Regions from separate parts of the Homo sapiens genome. Here regions 1, 2, 3 and 5 are each linked to region 4. Evidence: promoter capture Hi-C in human tissues and cell types (Jung and others, 2019). All regions are on one chromosome and are shown on one strand. The core of a region is centred on a gene start or on the middle of the fragment in contact, and the rest is flanking DNA. Distances in the headings are between cores, read along the strand shown. Region 1 overlaps HORMAD2-AS1 (HORMAD2 and MTMR3 antisense RNA 1). Region 2 overlaps HORMAD2 (HORMA domain containing 2). Region 3 overlaps HORMAD2 (HORMA domain containing 2). Region 4 holds the start of CABP7 (calcium binding protein 7). Region 5 overlaps HORMAD2-AS1 (HORMAD2 and MTMR3 antisense RNA 1).

What was found. Contacts are between HindIII fragments. The study calls those that stand out against the background at their distance.
Region 1: a fragment that was not itself captured here is called in contact with the fragment with the promoter of CABP7 in region 4 in 7 of the 25 tissues and cell types used here (IMR-90 fibroblasts, dorsolateral prefrontal cortex, hippocampus and 4 more).
Region 2: a fragment that was not itself captured here is called in contact with the fragment with the promoter of CABP7 in region 4 in 4 of the 25 tissues and cell types used here (bladder, dorsolateral prefrontal cortex, lymphoblastoid cells and 1 more).
Region 3: a contact is called between a fragment that was not itself captured here and the fragment with the promoter of CABP7 in region 4, in 4 of the 25 tissues and cell types used here (IMR-90 fibroblasts, mesendoderm cells, spleen and 1 more).
Region 5: a fragment that was not itself captured here is called in contact with the fragment with the promoter of CABP7 in region 4 in 4 of the 25 tissues and cell types used here (IMR-90 fibroblasts, lymphoblastoid cells, mesenchymal stem cells and 1 more).

The regions. Positions count from the first base shown.
Region 1 is chr22:30,030,995-30,033,801 of GRCh38, reverse strand. The region is part of intron 3 of HORMAD2-AS1 (HORMAD2 and MTMR3 antisense RNA 1); the gene reads left to right. Among named protein-coding and RNA genes, the nearest start is that of MIR6818, 25 kb to the right of the region's middle. The HindIII fragment of the contact is 4,791 bases long and covers 1-2,807 here.
Region 2 is chr22:30,123,428-30,126,397 of GRCh38, reverse strand. The region is part of intron 10 of HORMAD2 (HORMA domain containing 2); the gene reads right to left. Among named protein-coding and RNA genes, the nearest start is that of HORMAD2, 44 kb to the right of the region's middle. The HindIII fragment of the contact is 8,876 bases long and covers 1-2,970 here.
Region 3 is chr22:30,167,994-30,170,967 of GRCh38, reverse strand. All of the region lies in intron 10 of HORMAD2 (HORMA domain containing 2), which reads right to left. Among named protein-coding and RNA genes, the nearest start is that of LIF-AS1, 70 kb to the left of the region's middle. The HindIII fragment of the contact is 4,667 bases long and covers 1-2,974 here.
Region 4 is chr22:29,718,330-29,721,254 of GRCh38, reverse strand. CABP7 (calcium binding protein 7) reads right to left here and starts at 1,252. Exons shown (of 5, transcript NM_182527.3): 1 at 722-1,252. The coding sequence starts at 830. CABP7-DT (CABP7 divergent transcript) reads left to right here and starts at 1,352. Exons shown (of 3, transcript NR_186695.1): 1 at 1,352-1,707. The HindIII fragment of the contact is 29,567 bases long and covers 1-2,925 here.
Region 5 is chr22:30,051,125-30,054,075 of GRCh38, reverse strand. All of the region lies in intron 1 of HORMAD2-AS1 (HORMAD2 and MTMR3 antisense RNA 1), which reads left to right. Among named protein-coding and RNA genes, the nearest start is that of HORMAD2-AS1, 28 kb to the left of the region's middle. The HindIII fragment of the contact is 4,537 bases long and covers 1-2,951 here.

The DNA of each region.
Region 1 (2,807 bases), core at 247-2,746, 310 kb before region 4:
CCCCTTCCTCCCAACCCAACTAGGACTCCTCTCCAGGGGTCAGTGGCAACTGTCGAGAGGCACACCATTCTCATGGTTTCCATTTCCGTCTCCTCATCCCAGTAATAGAGGCTGGCAAGCTGACATCTTACTGTCTTTCCAAAACTAGGAGTCTCTAGTTAGGCGGTAATAAGGCAGCAGCTAGCTAGCTAGCTTATTACTGAATCAGATGAAAGAGAACAGAAAGAATCAGACCACCCCCAAGGGGCCAGGGGATGCAGTTTATGTCCCAAGGGCTGACAGGGACTTCTAAAGAGGGAGCTGCCCTGGTACACATTGTATGCCAGCACTTTCTGGGGGACTTGAAAGAACCTCCAGTTCTAAGGCTTGATCTTCCAGCTGGCAAAGTGCAGCAACCACTTACTACAAACTCATGTCTATTTGAACTCGGATGACATGGCCTTAAATATGTTGGGCAACCTTGGGCTCCTCTGTCATTGGAGAGGGTGGGGAGGGCCATCTGAACGCAAGGCCTCCACTTCCTCTTCCAACCTTGGGCTCTGGGATTTATTCTTAAAGAGATGCTAAGAGCACCATAGCCTGGACCCAGGCCTCTGTGATGCAGAGGCGAGGTCCACCTGGCTCCACCTTCCCCACTTCTCAGCCTGCGAAGCTAGTCTGCATCTTCTGGCTTCGTCTTTAGTCTTGAACAACTTAAACTCATCAGTTTAACAAAGTGAGGTCCTGTCTGTCTTTGCAGGATTGTTGCCATGGCAGGACTCAGGCGTTCTTAGATGCTGCCTCAACCCCAACAAGCAGTTTCTCTCCACACTCCCTTCCCATTGGCTCCATACACTCTTAAAGCATCGGTGCACATGCAGACCACCATCTGTTTACAAAATGTTAATTTAAAAACAAAACACATATATAAGGCCAGGCACGGTGGCTCACGCCTGTAATCCTAGCACTTTGGGAGGCTGAGGCGGGCATTTCACCTGACGTCAGGAGTTCAACCAGCCTGGCCAACATGGTGAAACCCTATCTCTACAAAAATACAAAAATTAGCTGGGCATGATGGTGGGTGCCTGTAATTCCAGCTACTCAAGAGGCTGAGGCGGGAGAATCACTTGAATCTGGGAAGCGGAGGTTGCAGCGAGTCGAGATCGCGCCACTGCACTCCAGCCTGGGTAACAAAGTGAGACTCTGTCTCAAAATAAATAAAACTAAAACACATATATGAACTTTAGTTTGTCTTCTTCAGCTAGTGATTCATTTGTAACTTAGTGCAAAACTCAGATTGGAATGCTTCAAAGTCAAATGTTTTCCCCTGTAAGGTGGAAGCGAGAGCAGGGTCTAGTTTCAACACACAGTGGAATAGAAGTGCTGCCTGGCTCTGATTGATTGTTCCAAATGCCTGCTAGAAGCCAGAGACAGAAATGCTATCATCTATCTATCTCATTTCATGGGACAGTGGGGAGGACAGCATTTGCTAGGCCCCCACCTTCCCACTCCATTTATATGCCATGTGCTCTGCTACAGATGAGGAAATGTCTCCGAGTTCCTCATACACCCATGAGCAACTCAGCTGGTGCTGCAGGGCTAGGATCCCACCCCAGGTCTGTGGGCTCTAAAACACAGGGGCTTTCCACCAAACTGGTGATTTTCAAACCAACTTTTGTGGCACTGCCTCAGGAGAATTTGTCCTGATATTAATAAATAATGTCCTGATAAATATTAATAACCGTCTTTTAAACTATATACACCCAAAGGTTTAAAACACATTCAGTGAGGCTGCTTGAGACTTCACTGTACAGTCTGTATTGCTGTGTGTGTGTGTGTGGCCTTTGCAGGGGTCACTGACTGGGAGGGCACCAGCTTAGTGCTGTGATCATTAGGCCCAGGGCCAACTCAGACCTGGTGGCCCTGAGCATAAAGTAATTTTAGTGCTTATAAATCTTTGGGTGTCTCTCATCTGATATATGGATGATAAAGACTGAAAGCAGGTTTTGGATATTCTTCTATTAATCCCTTTTTTCAGGCATGTACTTCAGTTTTGTCAACAAGAGATTGCAGGCAAGCTGTGACTACTACCATTTGCAACCGCTTACCTATAAAACTCAAATTTTTTAAAATTAAACTCCCCCATATTATATAACAACTAAAACAAAATCCAGAAATTGGATGCTGGGACAGTTCACAGTGAACCTATCATCTGCACTAATGAAAAATGCTCCCTCCCCAAGCCCACTGATTTTAAGATGTTATGACTTAAACTGTGATGATTCATGCTAATAACATATCATTTGTTTTTATGTATTTGAAAAGTTAAAAACAAAAACACTGGATTAGACTATCACAACATTTTGATTTTGGTTAAGAGGGAGAGAAGGGCTCATAATTCAAGCCTTGTGATGGCAATTGCCTAAGCTCCTCGCTGAGATTTCAACGAGAACCAATACAGCTATTTACATCAGGCTTTCTGGAGGCCCAAGAGCACAAGAAGAGGGTTAGGAGTCGGGAAAGTATTTTCCTTTTTTTATGGGACAGGGTCTCCCTCTGTTGCCCAGGCTGGAGTGCAGTGGCGTGATCATGGCTCACCACAGCCTGAAACTCCTAGGCTCAAGAGATCCTCCCACCTTAGGCTCCCAAGTAGCTGGGACTACAGGTGTGCACCACCATTCCTGACTAGTTTATTCATATTTTTTGTAGAGACAGGTTTATTTATATTTTTCGTAGAGATGGGTCTCAACATATTGCCCAGGCTGGTCTTGAACTCTTGGGCTCAAGTGATCCTCCCACCTCGGCCTCCCAAAGTGCTGGGATTACAG
Region 2 (2,970 bases), core at 334-2,833, 400 kb before region 4:
CAGGAGATCAAGACCATCCTGGCTAACACGGTGAAACCCCATCTCTACCAAAAATACAAAAAATTAGGCGGTGTGGTGGCGGGCGCCTGTAGTCCCAGCTACTTGAGAGGCTGAGACAGGAGAATGGCGTGAACCCAGGAGGCGGAACTTGCAGTGAGCAAAGCAGAGATCGCACCACTGCACTCCAGCCTGGGAGACAGTGGGAGACTCCGTCTCAAAAAAAAAAAGTCCATACTCTATGATTCCATGTCTATAAAATAAAGAGGAGAAACTAATCTATGCGAATAGAAGTCAGGATAGCAATATTCTTGTGAGCAGAATAGTGACTGTAAAATAAGACTGGGGGTTTCTCAGGGTCTGGAAGAATTCTATTTCTTGATCTGAGTGCTGATTTCACATATTTATTCAGTAGGGTTGTGACAAAGACAAAGCAAGCAAGATGTCCAGGGGGCAAAATGTAAGGAGGTCCTTACTCTTGGCACCTGAGATCTTCCTTAAAATATGCTCCCTAGGCACCTTGCTTGCATCACCCTCATCCCAGCTCTAGTGTTCAGTTTGTGAATATTTATTGAGCTGTATCACTGATACATATGTTTTACTGTATGTTTATTATTCTTGAATTTAAAAGTGTTAAGAAAGTCTGGTCTATTTCACTCCATAAATGAAAATAAACTTTAAGTGGATTATAAACCTAAATGTAAAAAGAAAAGCATTAAAACTTTTAGAATAAAATATGAGAATATTATTAATGACCTTAGGTAGAGGATTTCTTAAGGATATCCAAAAGCACATATTAAAGGAAAAGATTAGACTATATTAAAATTAAAAACTTACATTGCTCAAAAGACCTCTTAAAGAAAGTGAAAGATGAGCCAGGCACAGTGGCTCATGCCTGTAATCCCAGCACTTTGGGAGGCTGAGGCGGACGGATCACCTGAGGTCGGGAGTTCAAGACCACCCTGACCAACATGGAGAAACCCTGTCTCTACTAAAAATACAAAATTAGCTGGGTGTGGTGGCACATGCCTGTAATCCCAGCTACTCAGGAGGCTGAGGCGGGAGAATCACTTGAACCCAGGAGAAAGAAGGTTACCGTGAGCTGAGATTGTGCCATTGCACTCAGGCCTGCTGGGCAACAAGAGGAAACTCTGTCTCAAAAAAAAAAAAAAAAAAAAAAAAAAGAAAAGAAAAAGAAAGTGAAAAGATGAGCCACAAACATGAAAAAAATATTGCAACATAAATGAGTGAAAAAGAATTATTACTAAGCACATATTTTTTAAACCATTGAGGAAAAGATAAATAACCTGAGAGACAAATGCATGAAAGACATGAACAGCTATTTAATATGAGCAAAATAGGATGGCCAAAGAAAAGATGCACAAACACACAAATAATCAGAGAAATTCAAATTAACATCATGAGGCATTACCATTTCATATCTAGCAGACTGGCAGGAAACATAAACCCTGACAATAAGTGTTGGCAAGAATGTAGGGTACTCTCCTTCACTGGGGGTAGCGAGTAAGTTGGTACGACCACTTTGGAAAACAGTTTTGCTTTACCTAATATAGTTGAAAATACACAAGCCTAGAACTGTTTCATATATTCCCAAGAGACACTCTTTGACAGGTGTACCAGGAGGTATGTACATGAATGTTTATAGCAATTAAAAAGAATGTCTATCAAGAGTAGAAAACTCTACAGCAGTGAAAATGAAAGAACAATAACACAATGGCTAAATCTCAACTTTGAAGTTCAAGCAAAAGAAAATTAAAGGAGAATACTCAGAGTATGATTACTTTGATATACAAATTTAAAACGAGTAGATGTACTCATCCATGGCAAAACTATAAAGAAGAGCAAGGAAAGGTTATCATGAAGGTCAGGAGAGTGGTTACCTTCAGAGGGCGTGCAATGAGGAAGGGACACGTGGTGGCTTCTAAGGGAGTAGCAATGTTCTACATCTTAGCCTAAATGGAGGACATATGGATGTTCTCATTATTCTTTAAACTGTACATATTTTTATGTAGTCTATTATATGTATATCTCAAAATAAAATTTTTAAAAGAAATAAAGATTCTACATATGTATACACATGTATGTATGTGTGTGTGTGTGTGTGTGTGTGTGTGTGTGTGTGTTCCATGTATTCCATGAAGGAAAACAAAAAGGAATCCTTAGTGGGAAAGTGACAGTAACCACTTTACTAGACTTACTAAATTCTCTCATATGTTTGGCTGGCTGAGAGAGAAACTTCAATCAACTAAGTTTACCACAAAGTCCATATAATACATATAGTTTCAACTAAATGTATGCTTGAGAAGGATTATCACATTTCTTATTTAATCTATTAGTTGAACTATGCGTTCTTAGGTTGTCCTGCTTTCATTTGATTAAAAAAAAAAAAGAAAGAAATTCTTAATTAAAAGGTAAAAATCTAACCAGGTGTGGTGTAATCCTAGCACTTTGAGAGGCCAAGGCAGGAGGATCACTGGAGCCCAGGAGTTCAAGATCAGCCTGGACAACATAGGGAGACCCTGTCTCTAAAAAAAATAAAAAATAAGCTGGGTGTGGTGGCGCACACCTATGGTTTCAGCTACACTGGAGGCTGAGCTGAAAGGATTACTTGGGCCCAGAAGGTCAAGGCTGCAGTGAGCTGTGATCAACTACTGCACTCCAGCACTCAAGCCTGGACAACAGAGCAAGACTCTTTCCCTAAATAAATAAATAAATAAATAAATAAATAAATAAATACCTAGCTGAGGCCCAGTGTGGTGTCTCATACCTGTAATCCCAGCACTTTGGGAGGTCAAAGTGAAAGGATTGCTTGAGCCCAGGAGTTTAAGACCAGCCCTGGTAACAGTGAGACCCTTGTCTCTACAAAAAATTAAAAAATAAAAAATTAGCCAGGTGTGGTGGCATGTGCCTATAGTCCCAGCTACTCGAGAGGCTGAGGTAGGAGGATTCCTT
Region 3 (2,974 bases), core at 156-2,655, 450 kb before region 4:
TGTCAGGTGTTGCTGAGAGGGCAAGGAAGATGAGGACTCAAATATGTCCACTTGATTTCACCACATGGGGTTTACTTAGTGCATTGGATTGGTGAGGGTAGAAGTCACCTTGAAGTCATTTGAAGAGTGAATAAAAGACTAAAGAAATTGAGACAAGTACACAAAGTTTTATAGAAGTCCAGAGGGAGGGACCAACTCAGGCTGGGGAATTTAGAGAAGGCTCCTTAGAAGAGAGACATTGAGCTGGGTATTGAAGGAAGAGCAGCAGTTCACCAGACTGGAAATGGTGGTGGGAGCAGGGGGAGGTTATTCTAGGCAGAAAGTTCAATATGTTTAAAGACAATGAAACATGAAAAGACATGGAAAATATATGAGATGGTAGGAAATGTCCCTTTATTAGATTAGCTCTTATGGTTAGGTATTATGCATCCAACATACTCCTGTTAAAAATGTAAATTCCCCTGGAATTTTTACTTAATATTATGTTAGTGTAAGTGAATTTACCAAGTGGTCTCCAAGTGTCAGCCTACTAAAAGCAGAGCCTCACAGGCTTTGGAAAAAAGACAGATATGTTGTGACACAGGAAAGGCAGTTCAGGGCACGGTACTTGTTTTGCATGAGGAGGTAGACCTGCATGGGGAACCACGGGAGAGGGCAGCCCCAGGCAGCCAGGAAATACAGTGAGTTGTGTGCCTGGGGTGAGTGTAGTGAATTTTGCTCACTTCAAAATTATTTTTCAAGTCAGATCTGGCAAAATGTTTTCTCTTGAGAAAACCAGTCCTCACCAGTATAAATTTGTAGTTAAGTTTATGTCTAGAATCTTTGGATTTGGCAGTTTCCAGATCAAAGATTTCCATGGTTCAAAGGATCTATGTCCCTAAAAGTAAGTTATACCACTGATGTTAGTTTTGATTCCCTTAACATTTATATTTTTGGCACAATGAAAGGTAGATCAACAGTAATTATAAAATAAATGCTATTAACGTAAATGAAGTTTATGTTAACATTGTGATGAATAAGCAGTAAGAAAGCAAATGCTTTGAGAGAATACTTATGTCCAACACCAGTGGAGCTGTAAGCTTTCTTGATATGTTGGTACAGTAAAGGAAAGAAAGGAGTAAAACATGACAAAAATTATCCAAGTTTGTGGTAATGCCATTGACCAAGATTGGAAATAGAAGAAGTTGAGGGAGTGAGAGGTGGGAAAATGGTGGGGAAGATAGATGGAGAAATAATTGACTCTGTTTTTAAGATTCCGAATTAGATGTGAGATATCCAAATGAAGATGTTCACCAGGTGTTGACTATGTGAACTGGATCTAAGGATGGAGGAAATCACATCAAGAGCGCATTGGGAAGTGTCTCATGTTTTACTGGGACTTATGAGGGGTTTGCCCATTCAATTAATTTCTTTATCTTCTGTAGTTTGTGACCAGAGTTCTGGACCATGACTATCTCTACTTAGGAGGTAAATGTGTATTCTTCTTAGGCTCATAATCAGATATTTCCATTTATCTCCAAAAGTTGTTACATAAGTTCTTCCTTACTCCCTTCTCTAAGGCATCATATAACTTTAAAAGTTTTATAATTAATTCATTTATTTGATAAATTTTTTTTGGGCACCTTCTCTGTGCCAGACATTGTGTTAAACACTAAAGATACAAAGCTGATCAAGACACTTCATGTCCTCAAAGAAGGCCTGGTACGGGGAAACAAACAGGTTACAGAGGAAATGACAGAGTCATATATAGGGTACAGCAGGGGTTCCAAAAAGATCTTATCAGTTCTTTCTGGGGAGGCCTGGCAAGGCTTCAAAAGGGATATGAAGCTTGAACTAAGTAATGCAAGATGAGCAGACATTCACCAGGCAAACAGCATTAGGAAATGGGGTTGCAGATAACACATTTTAGACAGAAGGAGCACAGGTACAGGGATATAAAGCAGGATACCTCTGGGGAATTGGGTATAGCTCAATGGGGCTAACAGGAAGGGTGTGGGAGTGGTGGGCTGGGTCAGACAATGTCATTCTTTAAAGTTTGGACTTTGTAATGAGAGTCTGTAATGGAGAGCCCTGAAGGGTTCCAAGAGTAGGTCTGTTTTAGAAAGATCCCTATGGCAGCAGTGTGAAGGGTGGATTGGAGAGGAGTAAGACGAGAAGCAATGAGGCTACTTCAGAAAATGAATGATCTGAGCAAGACCAAAAGCCGCAGTGAAGTTAGAGGGAAAACATTAAAAGGATAGAGGGCTCAGGAGAGACAGAATGAGTGCCTGAACCTGAGCCCTACCATGACTTGATCATTAATTGGAATAAGCACAGGTATAGTAAAGGAAAGAAAGGAGTAAAACATGACAAAAATTACCCAAGTTTCTGGTAATGCCGGTGACCAAGATGGGAAATAGAAGTTGAGGGAGTAGGAGGTAGGAACATGGTAGGGAGGATGGATGAAGAAACAACTGACTCTGTTTTCAATATTCTGAATTGGAATGAGGTATCCAAATGAAGATGTCCACCAGGCATTGACTATGTGACCTGGAGCTAAGGATGAAGGAAATTGCATCAAGGGCACATATCTAAAGAAGTATTCACTTGGGACAAAAGAAAGGATATTACTTCTTCTGAGGTCCGAAGGAATGAGGTAAAATGGATACAGATATAGGTAAACATTTAAATATGAGAGCAGAAAGTTGAATGATTTATGTTTGATGGCCTTAATTATTTCTATGAAGTAGAGTTTAGGTCATCTGCTTAGAAAGGGAGTAAATTGGTCTTGGGTGGCACTTAAAACACTTAAGTGGTAAAAGTATAGAATGGTCATTTGGACAATGGGAAAAGCAGTTGATCATAGATTTGTAAAAATAATGTAGAGTTTTACTTAGGATCCAGATAGCTTTAAGACATATTACCTTCAAATGAAACATTTGAATGCTTACAACAGACTATATACTAAAAAATCACATATGTTATGTCATTTATT
Region 4 (2,925 bases), core at 3-2,502:
TGCGAGTCTGAGAGGCAGGGGGAACGGGGTGGGGGCGGGTTTGGGTCCTGGCCTCTCTGCCTTTCCCTTCCAGGCTTGGCTATCGCGACTTAGCCGCCCAGTCCGGCCACTTGTTGTCGCCACCGCCTCCCGGGCCGCCTTCCCGGCGCGCCGGGCTGGGGGTCCCCGCAGGGCTGCAGGGAAGGGGCTACGGCCGCAGGTGGGGACGGGGGCGGCCCCGCAGCGGGCAAGAGCAGGGCAGTCGCCCTCTCCCCTTCTGCTGCTGCCCGAGCAGATTGAATTTTTAAAGCGACACGAGCGGAATGTCAATGCGAGCAGAGAGCCGCGGGCGGGCGCCGCGGAGGGGATCAGGATGCGGGTGCTCCGGCCGGGCCGGCGCTGGGGGCTCAGCGCGGACCCCCGCCCCAGTCCGCCGCGTTGCCGCACCGTCACCGCCGACTGCGCGGCCCCGTGACCCCGCTGCGGGGCCCGGCAAGTTTCCGCAGCGCTGGGGACCACGCGGGCAGGGGCTGGGCCGCTCTCCGCCTGAGCGACCCCCACCGCGGCGCCCCGGGGTGCGGACAGGTCTTGCCGCGGGGCACAGCTGCTAGCTGGGGCGCCCACCTGGCAACCGGCACCTGCGGACCGCCCCCCGCCCCCCGCCCCCGCGCCCCTGGCCCGCGCTTCACCTGGGCGCACAGGTAGGAGGGCCGCCGGGGCGGGGATCCCGGCGGACACTCACCCTCCAGCTCGTCCTCCGGGATGTCCACCGGGCGCTGCTCCGACAGCAGGTTGGGCACGGTGTAGATGCCCCGGTACATCAACGCCGCCGTCACCGGGTGGAACGGCATCTTGGAGGCTCCGCGCCCGCCCGCCCGCCGCAAACTTTGAGGCCGGGGCTCATGGGCCGGTGGCGGCCCCGGGGGCGGCTGGAGCGGGCGGGGCGCGCGGCTGCGGAGGGCGGCGGCGGCAGCGGCGAGGCTGGGGACGCCCCTCCGGGGGCCTAGCGCCCCCGCGCCCCGGGCCGCCGGGCCATGCCGCCCGCTCCCTCGTCGGGCTCCCAGCCGGGGCCCCGCAGGGGCAGCGGGGGCGGCGCCGCTCTGGCCTTTCCGAGAGCTCCGGCTGCCTCGCGCGGTGCCCGCCGCGCCCGCTCCTCGGTGCCCCGCGCGCTCCGCGCTGCTCGCCGCCCGCTAGTCCGCTCGCCGGCGCGGCCGCTACCGGCCCGGCGCTCAGGCTGTAGCCGCCTCTCCGCTCGCTCGCTCGCTCGTTCTGTGCCGCGCTGGCTGCGCTCCCCGCCTCCCCCGCCAGCCGCCCGCCCGCCCCCTCCGCGCTCCCCACCCCCAGCCCGCCCCTTCCCGCCGCCGGCCCCTGAGCGGCCGCCCCAAACCTGCCCGGGGCTCCTTCTCCCCTTCGGCCCCGATTCCCCTTTCCCACTAGGGCTCCCCTCTGTTCACTGGCTCTCCTCACCCTAAGTCTGCAGCCACCAGGACCAGGGAGGGGGTGGGTTGCGGGGGTCCTCCTTCCTGCCCCTTGGCTCACCTTCCCCCATCCACGCACCAGGAGCGGAGAGCCCGGAACTAAGAACTGTAGACCCAGAGAGGTGAGACTGGCCCCAAGCACCTGGGTCCTCAAGAAGAGTCACCGTTTCCGTGCCAGGAGGATCCAAGGTGGGGAAACTGAGGCTGAGAGAGAAGGACGTTGACCAAGGTCACAGGGCAGGAGCAGCAGGTAAGAGCTGGGTACACGTCTGGGGTAGGCTTCCTGCCCTGCCTGTGACTGACACCCTGCCGCTGACCTTGCTCCCCACAATGGGGCCCCAGTCCCGGACCCTTCCCAAGCCCCTACCTTTCAGCTTGCAGAAGAGGAGCCAAAGTGTCTCATGGCCCCCAGGGCAGTTCGGGACAGAGACATGGCCCGGTGCCTGTGGGGTCTGGTGTGAGGGCCTGCCAGTTCACATGGCTGCAGCTCAGACCTAATGTATGTGCAGGGCTTCCCCAGGCCCCAGGGCACGTCGGCACCCCAGAGCTGGGGTGGGGGCAGGTGTTTGAGGGAGCAGCCTGCGTGTGCATATGTCTGCTATCCATGAGGGTGTGTATGTGCCACTGGGCACGTGCGCAGGTGTCTGTGACTCCATATGCAGATGGACAAATGTCGGGAGTGTGTGGCCACCTGTGTGTGCCAAGGTTGTACGCTGGCAGGTCGGGGGAGGTGTGCAGGCCCTGGGGCTGGGAGTGGTGTGGGCATATGGTGCACAGATGTGCATGGGAGGGGGTGACCTTCTGGCCTGGCTGTGGCCCCATCTCTGGGTGCTTCCCTGAATCCCCCTACTGGGACCACCTCCCTGCCCCCTTTGGCCCAATCAGCTAAAGGTCCCAGCAGGAACGCTGATTGCACAGCCCTGCCCGGTCCTGCCCTGCCCTTCCCAAGCTGATTACACTTTTCTGCTTGTTTCTGTTTTTGTTACTGATTAATCGCAGCCTTGTCTCAGGGTCTGGGGAGAAGGGGCTCAGTGAGAGATGCTAGCCCCAGCCAAGCGGGGTTGGGTCAGCCTGGGCCCAGCACTTCCTGGGCCCTGCTCTGGAGGGAGCTCCTAGAAACATCTATAACCTGCGGAGGAGCCAGGAAGGACACCAGCTGTCTGTCTGTCTCCCCAGACCTCTCCGGGCTAGCTGGTTGCCCACTGGGACCTGGGCCTGGAGGTGAGAGAGGCCCCAGAAAAGCTCCCACCCCACTCCAAAGCTCTCCTTGCCCACCTGTCCCATCTTCTGACCTTCCACCGCTAGAGCTGAATGCCTTGAGCTTCCCCAGTGTTTTTGATGGAGCAGAGACTTGAGGAAGTAAGAACCCAGCACCAAGAGCCAGGCAGACTGGGGCTTCTGCATCCACCATCTCCTCACCATGGAACTACAGTCAGGTCCCTTAACCGGCCATAGCCTCAGTTTCCCT
Region 5 (2,951 bases), core at 316-2,815, 330 kb before region 4:
TTTTGAAATGTTTATTTTTAAAAGTCAGGTCTATTGAGGCATAATTTATATATAGTAAAATTCACCCTTTATAAGTATATAATTCTGTGAGTTTTGGCAAATGTATACAATCATGTAATCACCACCATATCAAGATACAGAACATTTCTGTCACCCTGAAAAATTTCCTCATGTTCCTTTATAGTCAAGTCTCCTCTCCTCACCCACAGTCCCTGGCAACCATTGATGTTTCCTGTCCCTATAGTTTTGCCTTTTCTAGAATGTCATATAAGTGGAATCATATGGTATGTACTCCTTTGTGTTTGCCTTTTTTTTTTTTCAACTGACCACAGTGCTTTTGAGATTCATCCATGTTGTTGCATGTATCACTTGTTTGTTCCTTTCCATTGCTGGGTAGCTTTCCATTATGTGGATGGGCCACAATTTGTTTATCCATGCACCAGTTGTTAGACTTTTGGATTGTTTCTAGTTTAGGGCTACTTTGAATTAGGCTACTATGAGCATTCACATTCGGGTGTTTGTATGGATATGCTTTCATTTCTCTTGGATAAATACCTAAAAATAGGATTGCTATGTCAAATGGACGAGTATGTTTATAAGAGATTGCCTATTGTTTTTCCAAATGGCTTTACCATTTTGTATTTCTACCAGCAATGTATGAGATTTCCAATTGTTACTCATGCTCATCACCACTTAGTATTATCGATCTTTTCTTTTTCTTTTTCTTTTTTTTTTTTCCAAGACAGAGTCTCACTCTGTCGCCCAGGCTGGAGTGCAGTGGTGAGCTCAGCTCACTGCAACCTCTGCCTCCCGGGTTTAAGCAACTCTCCTGCCTCAGCCTCCCAAGTGGCTGGGATTACAGGCATGTGCTACCACACCTGGCTAATTTTTGTATTGTTAGTAGAGATGGGGTTTCACCATGTTGTCCAGGCTGGTCTCGAACTCCTGGCCTCAGGTGACCCGCCCACCTTAGCCTCCCAAAGTGCTGGGATTACAGGCATGAGCCACCACGCCTGGCCTTTGTTTCGTTTTTTGTTTGTTTGTTTGTTTTTGAGACACAGTTTCACTCTGTCACCCAGGCTGGAGTGTAGTGTTGCAATCTCAGCTTAATGCAAACTCCACCTCCTGGGTTCAAGTGATTCTTGTGCCTCAGCCTCTCGAGTAGCTGAGATTACAGGAGTGTACCACCATGCCCGGCTAATTTTTGTATTATTAGTAGAGACGGGGCTTCACCATGTTTGCCGGGTTGGTCTCAAACTCCTGAGCTCAAGTGATCCACCCATCTCGGCCTCCCAAAGTGCTGGGATTACAGGTGTGAGCCACTGCACCTGGCCAGCAGTTTCTTATAAAGCCAACTATAGGACCCAGCAATTCCACATCCAGGAATATGCTCAAGAAAAATTAGTTTATATGTCCACCAAAAGTCTTATACAAGAATATTCATAGCCACTTAATTACTAATAGCCAAAAACTTGACAAAATCCAAATATCCATCAAGAAAAACATAGAACAGTTTGTGATATAATCAGAGAATGGAATATCACCAGCAATAATAAAAGTAAAAAAATGTTGTAATATGCAGAACAGCATGGATGAATCTCAAAAACTTTATGCTGAGATTAAAAAAAAAAAAGCCAAACAAAAAAGTATATGATTCCATTCATATGACATTCAAAATCAAGCAAAACTAATCTATGGTGGTAGAAATCAGAATAATGGTTACCTCCGGAGGACTAGGTATTGATTCAATAAGGTGCAAGGGTCCTTCCAGGGTGAAGGAAATGGTCTGTATGTTGAAGTGGGTGAAGGTTTCATGGTGTATACATACGTAAAAATTAATTGAGTTGTACATTTAAGACTTGTGCATTTTACTGTATATAAATTATACCTCACTTTTAAAACACTTTTAATAAAAAAAATTACTATGGACCCCTAAAAATCCTGTGTTTATTTAACAGCTATCACATTTTATCATATTAGCAAGGCACAGTGGCTCAAACCTCTAATCCCAGCACTTTGGAAGGCTGAAGCAGGAGGATCACTTGAGCGCAGGAATTCCAGACCAGCCTATCAACATAGTGAAAGCCCATCTCTACAAAAAATGTAAAAATTAGCTAAGCACGAAGGTGTGTGCCTATACTCCCAGCTGGTCACAAGGCTGAGGCAGGAGAATCACTTGAGCCCAGGGGTTTGAGACTGCAGTGAGTTCTGATCACACCACTGCACTTTAGCCTGAGTGACAGAGTAAGACCCTGTTTAAAAAAAAAAAAAAAATTACCATATTATAAATTGAAATGGACAAACTTTATTTTTATTTTATTTTATTTTTTTGAGATAGAGTCTTGCTCTTTCACCCAGGCTGGAGTGCAGTGGCGCGATCTCAGCTCACTGCAATCTCCGCCTCCTAGTCTCAAGCAATTCTCCTGCCTCAGCCTCCCAAGTAGCTGGGATTACAGGCGTGTGGCACCACACCTGGCTGATTTTTGCATTTTTAGTAGAGACAGGGTTTTGCATGTTGGCCAGGCTGGTCTTGAACTCCTGACCTCAAGTAATCCACTCACCTTGGCCTCCCAACGTGCTGGGATTACAGGTGTGAGCCACCACACCCAGCCCAAAATAGAGAAACTTTAAAATATTTAACTCATTTAGAAATAACACTAATAAACTCATTACACATTAACATAACATTTAAATGAAAAATAACTACATTGTCTAAAACAAAACGATAATGGGAAGAATGTCATTGTTTTACATCTTTGTAAATTTCTTTAATGTCTGGCTCAAAAGAAGACAGCTGGATTCTTAAATCAACTTCTGCATTTAATTTTTTAAGCTCTCACATGTCACTCAGTGTTTGGAAACTCCACTGTATACTTGAAAGAGAAAGCAAATGAAAAGACAAATAACGGGTTATTATTATTATTATTATTTTCCTTTTTTTTTTTTGAGAT